Linked DNA regions of Homo sapiens: region 1 is linked to region 2. Evidence: promoter capture Hi-C in 16 types of primary human blood cells and fetal thymus (Javierre and others, 2016). All regions are on one chromosome and are shown on one strand. Each heading gives the region's core, a stretch centred on a gene start or on the middle of the fragment in contact. The rest is flanking DNA. Distances are from core to core; before and after follow the strand shown. Region 1 holds the start of DHH (desert hedgehog signaling molecule). Region 2 holds the start of GPD1 (glycerol-3-phosphate dehydrogenase 1).

The links. The method cuts DNA at HindIII sites, captures the fragments that hold promoters and counts their contacts. A CHiCAGO score of 5 or more calls a contact.
Region 1: the fragment with the promoter of DHH here is called in contact with the fragment with the promoter of GPD1 in region 2 in 1 of 17 cell types (total CD4 T cells); the score reaches 5.8 in total CD4 T cells.

What each region holds. Positions count from the first base shown.
Region 1 is chr12:49,090,709-49,098,163 of GRCh38, forward strand. DHH (desert hedgehog signaling molecule) reads right to left here and starts at 4,093. Exons shown (of 3, transcript NM_021044.4): 1 at 3,502-4,093; 2 at 420-681. The coding sequence starts at 3,804. It overlaps DHH-AS1 (DHH antisense RNA 1), which reads left to right and starts at 1,386. Exons shown (of 4, transcript XR_007063295.1): 1 at 1,386-1,634; 2 at 2,122-2,197; 3 at 3,414-3,480; 4 at 4,693-5,036. It overlaps LMBR1L (limb development membrane protein 1 like), which reads right to left. Exons shown (of 17, transcript NM_018113.4): 16 at 7,236-7,397; 17 at 6,431-7,031. The coding sequence ends at 6,964. RefSeq lists a silencer at 925-1,107, an enhancer at 1,966-2,110 and a cis regulatory region at 2,030-2,047. The HindIII fragment of the contact is 10,631 bases long and covers 1-4,317 here.
Region 2 is chr12:50,101,801-50,108,633 of GRCh38, forward strand. GPD1 (glycerol-3-phosphate dehydrogenase 1) reads left to right here and starts at 2,208. Exons shown (of 8, transcript NM_005276.4): 1 at 2,208-2,291; 2 at 2,774-2,951; 3 at 3,748-3,888; 4 at 4,488-4,626; 5 at 5,005-5,117; 6 at 5,767-6,000; 7 at 6,224-6,330. The coding sequence starts at 2,251. RefSeq lists an enhancer at 1,218-1,267. The HindIII fragment of the contact is 4,893 bases long and covers 1,986-6,833 here.

The sequences.
Region 1 (7,455 bases), core at 2,843-5,342, 1.0 Mb before region 2:
ATGTATTTTGAGATAGAATCTCGCTCTGTCGCCCAGTAGATGGAGTGCAGTGGCACCATCTCGGCTCACTGCAACTTCTACCTCCCGGGTTCAAGTGATTCTCGTGCCTCAGCCTCACGAGTAGCCGGGATTACAGGCATACACCACCACGCCCAACTAATTTTCGTATTTATAATAGAGACGGGATTTCACCATGTTGGCTAGGCTGATCTCGAACTCCTGACCTCAAGTGATCCGCCCTCCTTGGCCTCCCAAAGTGCTGGGATTAGAGGCGTGAGGCACCGCCTCGGCCTGGACGGGTGGTTTTCAACACTAAAGCCCGCTTGGTCTCCCCTAGGGTGGCAACAGTACTACTGCAGACTCAGTTTCCCGGAGGGAGCCCCCTTTGGGCGGATTTTACCACCCTCCTCCTACTGTACCAGCTTTGACCGACACGTGGACGTGGTTGCGGGACTCGTAGTAGACCCAGTCGAAGCCGGCTTCCACTGCGAGGCGCGCCAGCAACCCATACTTGTTGCGGTCGCGGTCAGACGTAGTGATGTCCAAAGCACGGCCTTCGTAGTGGAGTGAATCCTGAGCGTGGTGGCCGTCCTCGTCCCAGCCCTCAGTCACTCGTAGGCGCACTCCGGGCCACATGTTCATCACGGCAATGGCCAAAGCGTTCACCCGCTCCTTACAACGCTGGCGGGGAATAAAGGAGTCAGTCTCCCCACCACCACCCTTGGGGCAAAAGGGACCTGGATAGGAGGGTTGATTCTTTGTTATTCCGGCCCTACTCTTACCCCTCCCAGCTTTTGAGTGTCCTGGAGAAATGAGAATCTGAGTCGATGGTAGTCACCAATCTGCACTCTGTTCCCAGGACGTCGTTGGAGAACTGTGGGCTCACCTCTGAGGTTGAGAGGGGGTGCCCATACCTAGCTCCTTCCCCATTTTTAATGCCCGTCCCTCACCCCTATTGGTTCAGGGACAGCGGCTCAACCTGGGAGAAGGACAGAGTTAGGAGGGCGAATGGAAGCGTGGTCAGGGAGGGCCTGGTTGCTCCCGGAGAGCCCCTGTTTGAGCCTGGCCCCCGCCCCAGGCACCGGCTCCCCTCCCTCCGCCTGATTCATCTTTTGTTTCATTGCCTTCCCTGGCACCGGGCATCGCTTCCTTCCTTCCTTCCTCCTCCTCCTTTGGGCCCTTAGCATTAACCCCTTCGTGCTCTGGGTGCCCCCCAGAGAGGTGCCCAAGAGGAGCTGTGCGGGATCAAGGCTGCTGGAAAAAGGATTGGGGTGGCGGGGGTTGCGCGAAGTACAATGGCCATTATCCGGGATGACTTAACCGAGCGAGAATCCTGAGCCCAGGCCGGGAACGCGCTGGGAGAAGCGGACTCAGCAGCTCCGGCCACAAAGGCGCTTTTCAGCCGCCCCGGCTCAGGGAGAGGAAAGGGCAGAAAGCCGCGCCCCCAATCCCTGCTCCGTCCGGGTAGGTCCCCTCCCCCCGCGCGTCCAGTCTTCCCAGTTCCAGCTAAGGCTCTGCCAGTCCGGAGAGCCCCTATCTCTCCCATCTCTGCTCTAGATGCAGCCCAGAAGGGCGTGGGAGTAGCACCTGAGAATAACGGTCTCCTTGTGCGGATCTGGGGAGCCCCCTGCAGGGTGAGAGCGGAGAAGAGGAAAAGAAGCTGCGGCTGGAAGCCTGCACCTGGGGGAGTGAGACCACAGTTATCTTGGCCGCTCCAGCCTGGGAGCGGGAGACCTTGGCGCGCACCATAGCAGGGACACCGCGGGAGGAGGCGCAGAGGGACAGCTTCCTTTTTTTCTTTCCCCTCCGACCTCTCACCTCGGACTTGGTTTTCTCCTAACAGAAAGACACTTTTCCCCTCTCCTCTAGTCTCCTCCACCCCGCAGAGTTGGGGTTGGGTGGGGGGAAAACAGGAAAAGTGGTAGCTCCTTCCAACTTTGTCGTTTCGTCCCCTAAGGAGGCCCCGAGGCCCTGACCTGCGGGGGCAGCAGCCCAGTGCAGAGCCAACTCAATGGAGGCCTTTTGCAGCCAGGGTGTGGGAGATAAGTAAGACTGAGGGGGCTCCCAGGCCTGCCGGAGCCCCTCCTGAGCCTGTCCCTTGTTCTGCCCACTCTGCTGCAGGTGGCAACCAGAGGAAAGGGCCACAATGTTCCACGGCCAAGGAGGAAAGAAGGAATGCCCCTTTTCCCATCTCTAGGTAGGAGGAAGGCTTCAGGGCAGAAGCAAAAGGAATTATTTCTTCCCTGGACAGGTTTTCCTAACAAAGTAACCTGGAAAACTATGGCAATTAATCAGAGGAAATCCGTACCCCTCCCTCTCCCCCCACCTCCCCACTCCATACACAATTAGGTGGTGTAATGGAAAGTATATAGGGCTTAGAATCAGGAGTCCTGAATTCTAGTCCCAGCCATGCCACTTTAAATTGTGAGAGTTTAAATTGCTTTTCCTCCTGGGGGAAGTCCAGCTCTCAGATGTAAAATGAGGGTGGCAGTGGGGGTGGGGAGGGTTGGAGGAATGTCATCTCTCAAGTTTTCTTTCAGTTCTAACATTCAAGATCACTGGCCAGGCTGGATGAAGTGGCTCACACCTGTAATCCAGCACTTTGGGAGGCCGAGGTGGGAGGATCCCTTGAGCTCAGGAGTTCAAGACTAGCCTAGGCAACATGGCAAGACCCCGTCTCTACAAAAAATAAAAAATAAATCACTCGCCAGAGGTGGTCCTTCTCTTCCACCTCACTCTAGGTGGTTCCAATGCTCAAAAATGGTAGTTGAATTTATCCTAATTATGTAATTCCAAGGAAAGCCCCTGAGATAGGCAGAGCTTGGAAGACTTAGGAGCCCTCTGATTCTCAGGTGGGTCCATCTGTTATTCTCACTGAGGATTACTTTTTAACCCCAAGATTATCGTTTAGACCCTAGGATAGCCCTAGAATAGACCCTAGAATAGATGTGTCCTGGTTCTAGGACACGTTTCCCATGCCAAAAGCAATGTCTGCCCAGCCCCTCCTCAGGTAGATGGTCTGGTGACCTGACCCTTGGCCACCCCTGTCCCAGCCCTTTTCAGTCTCTTCTTTTCGGCCCACAGAGCTTTTCTACAATCAGGTCAGGAGCCAGGCTTCTGTCTGCTACCTAGCCAGCTCCTGGCCCCCAGCTCACCCCAGCCCTTCCTGCCTGGCTGGGTGGCTGACCCCCGGTCCACGCCTCAGCCATTTCCCGTCTCGCCTGCCGCCATCCTCCTTTCCCCGCCCTCGCTGCCTCTACCAGCTTCACTCTCACTAGTCAGTCCCTCCTCCCCTCCCCATCCCAGACTATTCTAGTCGGGAGCCGTCCTAATTACTCTGTCCAGACTGCAAGGATTTTTCCCCCCCCTGGGGCTGGTGACAAGGGAAATCTCTAAGGCTAAACTCTCTGTAGGTGAAGCTGGACTCACCCACCTGGGCTGCCATAGGAAAACGGAGGAGCTGGCAGTGCCCCGGCGCAGGTAGGGAGAGGCCCTCCTTACCTCGGTCATCAGGCGGTCGGCTCCACTGTTCTCCTCATCCTTGAAGATGATGTCGGGGTTGTAGTTGGGCACGAGGTCCCGGAAGCGCTCGGAGCCCCTTGCCACCCTCCCCTCCGCTGGCCCACTGGCGCCCAGGGTCCGCTCTGGCACGCCGGGCACAAATTGCTTGTAGAGTAGCGGCACGAGCTGCTTGCGCGCATAGCGGCGCCGGCCAACCGGCCCCCGGCCCGGCCCGCAGCTCTGGGCTGGCAGCGCCAGAAGTGCCAAGCAGCACAGGGGCAGTAGATTGGTCAGGAGAGCCATGGATACAGCGGACCTCGGCCAAAAGGGAGCGTTCTTGTCCTCACTAACTCTCCTGTCAGTTAGGCATCTCCACAGGCACCAGAGAGGGCAGCAGGCACAGCTGCCCCCAGAGTGCCCTAGAGCTCTTGTGGCTCCGTGCACCTGGCTGCTGCTAGCTCTGCCCACGTGCCCCGGGAGCGGGCGGGGGGTGTCTAGGACCTGCTACTGACAAACCATCATAGCAGGGAAGGGGGGTCGTGGGTGAGTGCCAGCCCAGCCCGTCTCTGCTGCAGGACTCTGGTGCTGCCAGAACGCCCGGACTCCGGACTCCGCCTTAAGTGGCCCCTGGCCCCGCCCTCCGCCCTTCTCCCAAGACCGTCCCACCCCCTCCCACCCGGGCGGGGGATCTAGCCGGTCACTGCTGGTCCATTTTGCGACTGAAGTGTGTCCCATCCTGGAAACCAGGCAGACACCTGCCTAGGAAATACTTGTAGCTTTACAGTCCTTGGCTGCCTAAACATCCTTCTACCTCCAAGCTTAAACTTGGAACCAAACCACCCTCCTCTGATACTTGAATTGGAATTTTTACTCTCTCAAAGCCTACCCTGGCAGGCCATGCCCTCCGCTGTCATCCAGGAAGTATGGGTTCCAATTTCTGCCCAAGACCAGCCAAGCCCTTTGGGCATACAACCAGAGCCTCCCTTCTCTGTAGTCCTCCCCAGATCTCCCCGACTTCCATCTCTCCTCACATTCAGCATTAAGCAGGACTGGGAGGTGAGGATACCAGGGGCCCATTTCTCTACTAACTTTGCAGTCTCCTTTGGAACTTCCCCAGAACCAGGAACAGAGCTTGGTACTTATTGTCTCATTTAGGACTTCCAACTTTTTTCCCCTTCTCTTCTTTGCCAGGCATCTAATAGCTGCTGTTTTTCAAATGAATGACTTCTCAGTTGGAAGCTGCTGAAGGGCAGTGGACACTCAAAAGTCTTTGTAAGAGGTGAGGATCACTTCCCTTAACCGTCCATCTAGGCACCTCTCCAGCTTTCTCCCTCTCTGGACTCCCGGGGCTCCATTTTCAGCCACTCAGATCTCATCTCAGAGGCACCACGTCCAATTTCTTTTGTTTAGAAGTCATTTCTTCTAAGAAGCCTTCCTTGATGTCCCAACACTGCCCACCTGTGTTCCCTCGAGAACCATTACTTAACTGCAGTGTTAGAACAGTATTAGAATTATCTGGCACCTTACTAGACAAAGCAATCTTAAGCACACACATATTTATCATGTATCTCCAAGGTTAAGTGCCTACTCTACAGAAGGGTGCTTTGCAAGCATTTGTGGAATCTACACTTTGTGTTTCATATTCACCCTCCCCTCACCACACTCTATGGCTAGTACTCATAGCAACTTTGTGTACATCAGAAAAAACCAGGCCAGGCACAGTGGCTCACTCCTGTAATCCCAACACTTTGGGGGCGAGGCAAGGACTGCTTGAGGCCATGAGTTGAAGACCAACTTGGTCAACATAGTGACACCCCGTTTCAAAAAAAAAAAATTAATTAGTGGGAGGTAGTGGTACATGCCTGTAGTCTTAGGTACTCAGGAGGCTGAGGAAGGAGGATCACTTGGGTGCAAGAGTTCAAGGCTGTAGAGTGAGCTAAGATCATGCCACTGCACTCTAACCTGGGTGACAGAGTGAGGACCCCCCCCCCCAAAAAAAAGATGGCTGGGTGTTGTGGCTAACCCCTGTAATTCCATCATTTGGGGAGTCCAAGGTAGGTGGATCACTTGAGCTCAGGAGTTCAAGACCAGCCCAGGCAACATGGCAAAACCCCATCTCTACTAAAAATACAAAAATTAGCCAGGCATGGTAGCATGTGTCTGTTGTCCTAGCTATTCTGGAGCCTGAGCTGGAAGAATGGCTTGAGCCCAGAATGCGGAGGTTGCAGTGAGCTGAGATTGCACCACTGCACTCCAGCCAGGGTGATAGAGCCAGACCTTGTCTCACAAAAAAAAAAAAAAAAAAAAGAAGAAGAAAAAAGAAAAAAAAAGCACCCCTTCCTCAAGATGACTGACATTTATTAGAAAACTATCATAGTAACTATCCACACAATGACTATGAGGTGAATGGTGTCCCTGGAAGCTGTGCAATACACAATCTGTATAAGCCTAAGTTTTGCGCTCTTACTCCCAACATAGCACATGGGCTTTTCAAGAAACTGATGGCCTCTAGTAAAAAGCTAGATTCTTCTCTCAGGTAGGAAATGAAAATCCTTGTCAGCCAGCCACTTATTTTACTCTATATCCAATAGTTAAGCCAGGGAGGATAGGGCTGAAGGTATGAGTGTATCGGGGAGGTTAGCCTACTCCTATGCCCATGTCCTACCCCCAATACTCAAGGTACAGAAACAAGGCCATGAATATAAGGAGGAGTCAGGGGACAAGCCAGCTTTAAGCAAGACTGAGGATGGAGGAGTTTCCCACTGCCCAACTGCATGGCCTAACACCAGATCCAAGTCCCCAAAGGATGGTAATAATATAGATGAAGGGGAAGGAAAAGGATGGTGGGCAGGACCCCTCTGCTTCTCTTACTGGGCAGACGCCGGGCTGGTGGGAGCAAGGCTGTTCAAATATACACAGAGACAGGTGCTTTAAAAAAACAAAGCAAACCCTGGGATCAACTTTATTGCTGATGGCTGAAGCCTCCTCCTCCCTATCCCCTTGGTCTTTCAGGTGGTCCAAAGCCCCTCCAGGATAGCACAGTGCTTAGGCTCTGCTGGGCCAGAGGCAAGGGAGACAATCTATCTCCCGAGCCTGCCCTGGCCCAGTCCTTTCCCTGCCCCTACCCCACCCTATTGCACATCAAATCATGTAAACATGGCTATGGGGATGGCCCAGAACAGCAGTGAGGCAGATTGATGTGTAAACAGATTTGGGATCAGGGGCTAGACCCAGTCACCCAGCCCTACCCCATGCTGAGGCCACAGTTAAGTATGGAAAAGCAGGAGGTCCTGGTCCCAAACTCTGGCTCAGATTATGCAATAGTGCAGATGGCTCTGCTCCCCTCTGCCACCCACCCTCTCAGATTCCAGGTCCTGAGGTCCAAGTAGCCTTGGGCTTCCCTCCAGGCCTAGGCAGCAGATGGCAGTGTCCAGTTTTTTCCTTCCCACCCCCAGCTGGAGGTCACTGGTGCTGGGTCTTCCTAGATGCCTGGGGGAAACCGGAGACGGGCAGCGGCAGTCTGTCCAGCCCTGGAGAAGAGGAGATGGGCAGTCAAAAGCAAGTCAAAGGTCCAGTCCGTTAGGGACCAGGCAGCCAAGCCACAGAATGTGTGGATGAGGTACGTTACCCACAAAGCAGGAAGCACACCCTCTCCCCTGCTGGGGTGATCCATGTTCCAGAGTGTCCTAGATGATTACCACCCCCCACTAGCCTGCACCCTCACTCCCTCTCACCAAAGGCCCGGATCAGCTCTGCCCGCACAGCTGCAGTGAAGGTCTTCACCAGACAGAGTGTGGTGAGGCCTGCAAAGGCTGCGTTGTAGAGGAACACAATGTAGAAATTGCCCAGCCAGTTGAAGCGTCCAAAGTCACCCAGCAGGTCAAAGCGAGTGAGCCCTGAAGCACAAAGGCCAGGATGAGAGGTGGGCTCCCCAGGCCCTTTTCTGCTACCAGC
Region 2 (6,833 bases), core at 958-3,457:
GGCTCATGACTTTTTTCCTTTGTCATTATGCAAGAATGGGGTTTGGAATATAGGATCAGAGTACAACCACTTTCCAAAGTTGTAGTTTAAAAATTATCCTTTGCCTGTTTGGATGGGAACATTCTAGTATTGCCTGTTCAATATATGTAATCAAACCCACCAAAAAATCCAACCACTGTTCCTACTCCGGAACTTGGGGTTTATCAGACTTGAGAAGGGAAAGCAGAGAGGAGTGGTTGGGCCGATAACTAGGAGTGGAGAAAATTGATGTCAAGGACATTGAAATGGCATCTGTTTTTACCCAGGCTAATTACATGTGTAATGAATGGCTGATGAACCATTATTAATTTCAAGCAAATCTACAGTTTGCTCTTGGGAAAAGAGCTCTAGTGATACAGATAACTTCCTGTGATGAGCCGATTCTGAATCTCTGCACCCTCTTTATTCCCATGTAAATGAGCACATTCTTAGTCTCCACACTATCTAAAATGATTGTAGGGGCAAAATGAGAGAGGGAAGCATTTAGGCAAAAACAAGGGGGTTATTTTATGCATAAACATCCATTCTTTGGGGCTCCCATCATTTGTGCCAGGGACAGAAGCATCCTTTCTCTTCCATCACCCGTAATCAGTGCTCCCAGCTGGCAGCCTGGCACTGGAGCCTTCATCTCAGTGCCAGTGCAATAAAGGAGTGGTCTGTGGGAGGCTGTTTCTGTATTAGGTATAACATTGTGCTAAGAAAAACAGCCAACTACTGATTTCATGTCCGTTTCCCTATGGGAAATTACTGGCCATGGAAGGAGAATATGGTTGGTTTTTCCTGGGCAGTCCCCGGAACTTAGAAAGCCATTTCTCCCCAGTCTTGACCTCCTGCCTGCTTACTCCTACCCATGGGTTGCACACAGACTCCCCTGTAGCCCAGTGCTTGTTACCAGTTGCTGGCCAGCAACAGCCCAGGGGGATGGCAACACCCACCTAGCCGTCTGCCAAGCCAGGAGGTCAGCACATGAGCACACAGTGGTGTCTGCCCTCTAGGCCAAGGTGCACAGTGTTAGGAGCCTCTTGCTCCACTCTCCAGATCAGCCTGGAAACCAGAGCTTCCCTCGTCTTAGACAAACAGATGGCCGTGGGCGATGCAGAGCCCTGAACTGCTGAGGGTGCTCCTTCCATTCTCGCCCTTCCCCAAAAAACATACACCAAACTTACCCCCAATCACAGCATCTGAGACCACAAAGCCCCACGGACACAGCTGCCCCGGGTACTGCCTGCCTTCCCCTTTTCTGGCCTCTGCAAACTAGCCATTCACCTGATGAAGCCCCTGGGGCAGTACCTTGGAAACCCCTGAGAGGAGGAGTTGAAGGAGGCTCAAAGCCTTTCAAGGACAGTGTGCACTCTGCCTGCCTCCTATTCTCTCCTGTCCTCTTAAGCCCAGAGTCTACAACAAAATTGTGTACCGCAATTCTCAGAGCTCTCTAACTTTAACCTTTCCCACCTTCCCTAGAACACATTTTTGGGTGGGGATCATCTGAGAGGCCCATGGATGAGTCCCCAAGATGACCTCTGTGGGTGACCAAGACAATCTTGTCTTTTGAGGCACCTGGAGTCTCTCATCCTTTTTTGAGCTGGGCTGTCCTCAAAGCAGGCCCTTACCTCTTATGTGGCCTCATCTTTAGAGGTGGGAAGTGGGCCCACATCCCCCACCCCAGCCCTGCAGTGGAGCTAGCGTGGGCCTGCTGGAGGACAGAACTGTGGAACAGGGTCCTGTGAGGATATGTGGCAGGGTTGGCGGGGGGATAGGGGGTCATGGAGGAGCCTACCTCTGAAAAGCATTCCCCTAGCTGCTACTGAAGCTAAATACAATTTATTTCATGCTGGGGGACAGAAAGGAGCAAGGGAGAGCAGTCACCTGCTCCTTATCTGGGCTATTTTCTTAGCAGACCTCAAAATGAGACCATGGTGGGAAGCTGGGCTGGGGCCAAGGGAAGAAGCTTGCCAGCACTGTCAGCCGATGAGCCCAGGAGAAAAAGCTGGGCCTAGTCTCTGCCCCATTCCTGTTCCACACCTGTCTGTACCCCTGTCTCTCCTTTCCCTGGCTCTGCCAGACTCTCTATCTCCCTGGGCGCCAGCCTCCCCACCCACCCCTGGAGGGCGGGGCTTGGCTGCACCCACGTGTGGTGGAGTTAAATGCTCCTAGCCGGCAGAGGAGCTAGGGAGTGTGGCACTGAGCCGGCTCAGGCAGAGACGCGGCACCATGGCTAGCAAGAAAGTCTGCATTGTAGGCTCCGGGAACTGGTAAGCAGCTCTGTCAAGTGATATGGGGGAAGGGTAGGCCCCCCAAGACAGAGGTGGGTAGGAGGCAGAATGGGTGGGAAAGGCCCTCAGGTTCCTGTTCAGCCCCTGCTGCTATCTTCTATCATAGCAGCACAGGACAGACGGTGCCCGGCCCTCTCCTGACCCCCGCCCTCCTGGGCAGCTGCACCTGTTCACCATGGGAAGGCGTCTCCAGAGCTCTCTATGTGAAGAGCCGCTTGAGTTTGGGGGTGGGAAGATGAGAAGTGGGGCTCCCTTCTCTAGTAGCAAAGGGTGAGGAGACTGAGTCTCCTTTCTACTGCCAGGTCACTGGGGACTATTTGTCATGGGAGTGGAGGTGATAAGGAAGGTAGGTAGGAGTGAACAGCCTGGGGGGCTGCTGTGAGATCCTGAGGTGGGGCGCTGCCCCAACTCCTGCCACTGTTCCCTCCTCCTGTACTTTCCTGTGCTCCCCCTCCCACCAGGGGCTCAGCCATCGCCAAGATCGTGGGTGGCAATGCAGCCCAGCTGGCACAGTTTGACCCACGGGTGACCATGTGGGTATTTGAGGAAGACATTGGAGGCAAAAAGCTGACTGAGATCATCAACACGCAGCATGAGAATGTCAAATACCTGCCAGGGCACAAGTTGCCCCCAAATGTGGTGAGCCCCAACACCCTGCGAAGAACAGGGAGAGGAAGGGAGGGCCAGGAGTTGGAGCCGACCTTACTCAACAGGTGCCTCCTGCTGAGAGGGCCGCTTCAGGTGCAGCAGGACTTGGGAAGGTCTCAGGAGGGCTGCTCTGGGCCCTTTCCTGAGGACTGAGGAGAACCTATGCTTTCCCCTCACAGGCTCCCAGGCGGGTGGGTGGGGAAGGGATGGGAGAACAAGTTGGTCTCCATGGCAGCCAAAGACTGGGCTCCCAGACTTGGGGTCCAGTAGTGCCTGCCTCCGGCACTAATCCTGTTACTCATTCACTGAGTGAGTAGCCGACTTGGAGGCTGCTCCTTGGACTTACGGTCTTTGGTCAAATCCACGTGGCTCTCCCCACCTGGAAAGGGGAAGCAGGGAAGAGAGCAGAAAGGCTGGGGCTCCCCCTTCCCAGCTGGGGTTCCTGAGGAGCTGGGTGATGAAATCTTATTTGAGCTCTTTCTTTTGCCAAGCCCAGGCTGCTTTTGGCCTCCCGCACTGTCCCACAGCCAAGGGATAGGAGAGTGCTGGGATGAGGTTTCCAGGAGTCCTCAAGAGCCCAGGACAGCTGGAGGGAGACAGAGTGGTAGCTGGGGGGAGGGAGTAGAGTGTCTTATTCCTCCAAGTTCAGTCCTTCTAGATTCAGTCCCAAACAAGCCTTCCTGCTCCCCTACCAGCCTCACTCTTTGGCTCCCAGATCTCCTGAATAGGGTTCCACAGGGGCTAGGGGAGGTCTGCCAGGCCCGCGAGCACTTGGTCACCCCCACAGGTGGCTGTCCCAGATGTGGTCCAGGCTGCAGAGGATGCTGACATCCTGATCTTTGTGGTGCCCCATCAGTTCATCGGCAAGATCTGTGACCAGCTCAAGGGCCATCTGAAGGCAAACGCCACTGGCATATCTCTTATTAAGGTGCCAGGGACACCTTCATGTGGATGGGGGAGGGTGCGGCTCACTGTTGTGGGGTTCAGGGTGGGTGAAGCAAGGAGAACAGAAAATGGCAGACGCAGGCCAAGAGTTTGCTGGAGAAAAGAGAGGCAGTTGGCTCTGGAGAGGCTTAGGAAAGCAGTGAGGTGCTGGGGGTCACTGGAAGGGAGGCTGAAGGGAGGAGACGAGATTGGTTTGGAGGTCCTCTCGGGGAGTTTCGGAGGTATAAAGGAATGCCTGGGAGATATGAGAAGCGGGCTGGTTTGAGAAGTGTGAAGAGTAGCTGGTTTGGAGCAGTGACTGGTCACTGAATGGCAGTTTGTTGGGGCAGTCAGGCGGGGTTGCCTAGGGATGTGGAGGGGACCCGTTGCCTTGGAGAAGTAGACTGGTTGAGGGTATGTGGCAGGACAGTTGGTCACATGCTGTCTGGCCTCCTCACAGCAAACTTGAGCTGGGTTGGAATGGGGCAGGACCTGTCGGGAGGGACACAGATGAGCAATGGATTTGGAAGGGACAGAATTTCTGGGCGGAAGCCCGCAGGTGGGCCCAAAGGGCACCTGGCCTGAGCTCCATCCTGTGCTCAGGGGGTAGACGAGGGCCCCAATGGGCTGAAGCTCATCTCGGAAGTGATTGGGGAGCGCCTCGGCATCCCCATGAGTGTGCTGATGGGGGCCAACATTGCCAGCGAGGTGGCTGATGAGAAGTTCTGTGAGACAACCATTGGTGAGAGCCCCCTGGCACCTGCATACACAGTGCATCTAGTTGCATCCCCTCCCCAAACTGCCCCAACCCCACTTAGCCATCTCTTTCCCATAAGGCAGAGAAAGGAAAATACAAGCATCAGAGGTGAAGGAGGCTGGGACACCCCCAGGGAAGGGGCTTCAGGGCCTGCTTAGGGAAACACAGTGATGAGCCCTCCCTCAGAGTTGGTGCAGTGGCACACCTGTGGTCCCAGCTACTTAAGAGGCTGAGGTGGGAGGATCGCTTAAGCCCAGGAGTTTGAGTCCAGCCTGGGCAACAGAGAGAGACTCCCATCTCTATAAAATAAATATTTTTTAAAAAGAGTCCTTCCCTCAAAGCCTTGCCCCCTCCTCACTTTAGGCTGCAAGGACCCGGCCCAGGGACAACTCCTGAAAGAGCTGATGCAGACACCAAACTTCCGTATCACAGTGGTGCAAGAGGTGGACACAGTAGAGATCTGTGGAGCCTTAAAGGTGAGAGGGGCACAGAGGCAGCTATGGGGTGAGGAGAAGGCCCCAAAGGAGGTCTGGCTGAGCTCTGCAAGGCTGCAGGTACTCCAGGCTCTCACTATTGAGCAGTGGTTCCCCTTTCCTACCATGTCCCATGCATATAGGAGGAGCTGCAGAAGCAAGGCCAGGGCCATTCAGGCCGGCTGATTATTCATCATCAGACCGTGGACCCCCTTGCTCCTGTCCCATTTTAGCCCCGTGTGGGACTCCCCACCCTCTGGCTCCAGGAGGTGGTCCAGGGGGACAAGGAGATGCCCAGGCTAATGGGAGACAAAACATCCTTGACACCCAGACAGACTAATGGCCAGAACTATGGATCCTGGACAGCTGTTGACTTGAGGGCTGTACAATGGAATGGTCATAGATGGGAAGATCAACTAGAGAGAAGAGTGGTTTTCAGAAAATGTCCTCGAGGAGGGAGTATGGGGCAGGGCTTAAGAAAGGGGGTGCAGCAAGGGGGGAAACCAAGAGGCGGAAGTAGGCTTCTAAAAGGCCACACACTATACCTCTCTTCTGCAGTGGGTGTCACGGCTGATGAAATGAGTATGAGGGGGCTCCACATGGGGCCTATAGGAGGGGGTCTTTTCTCACCTATGACCTCCACTCCTTCAAGAATGTAGTGGCCGTGGGGGCTGGCTTCTGTGATGGCCTGGGCTTTGGCGACAACACCAAGGCGGCAGTGATCCGGCTGGGACTCATGGAGATGATAGCCTTCGCCAAGCTCTTCTGCAGTGGCCCTGTGTCCTCTGCCACCTTCTTGGAGAGCTGTGGTGTTGCTGACCTGATCACTACCTGCTATGGAGGGCGGAACCGGAAAGTGGCTGAGGCCTTTGCGCGTACAGGAAAGGTGGGCCCCGGGAGAAGGGAGAACAGAGGGGCGGCTCTGTAGGCATCCAGGTAGAGGTGCTTGGCGGGAGGCATCTCTGGAGCACAAACATTAAGACTGTTGTGCACATCCCCATCCCTCTTTTCCTCCCAAGACCCCACTCCCATCTGAGCTCCAGTCTCTCCACCCCCTACTGACAACCCTTCTCTCCCATTTCCATCCACTCATCCTGTTTTCTGCACAGTCCATTGAGCAGCTGGAGAAAGAGTTGCTGAATGGGCAGAAACTGCAGGGGCCCGAGACAGCCCGGGAGCTATACAGCATCCTCCAGCACAAGGGCCTGGTAGACAAGTAAGTATTGGCCACAGCCCCACTGATTAAGGGAGCCACAGCCAGAAGTGCTCGCCCTGTTCATCATCTTCCTAAACCTGCCACAAATCTGTGAAGTGGACAGAAAGGGGAGTATTACCTTACATTTCAGACAGAGTCCAGAGCTTGCAGAGTCTGGCATGCCCATTGTCCGCCAGCTAGTTCATGGTCTTTGAACTCCTTCCAGTCTAGTGCTCTTCACACTACATTACCTGGATCCCTTTGTGCCCCTCCTTCCTTGTCCTCTGCTCTGGGGTTGGAGCTCTGGGGCAGCAGGAATAAGCTCATCCCACTTCTGTCCATCACCCCTAGTTTGAGTCTCTTCCCCAAGGCCAACCCATCTGTTCCCTGAATCCTGTTCTGGGTGCTGAGGTGTAAGGAGAAGGATGGGCTTCAAGGTGCTCGTTTTCAGAAAGACAGCGGGGGTGATTGGGCTGATCAGAGCAGAGCTGTGCTGGTCTGAGAAAGACTCCTAGAAGAAGACA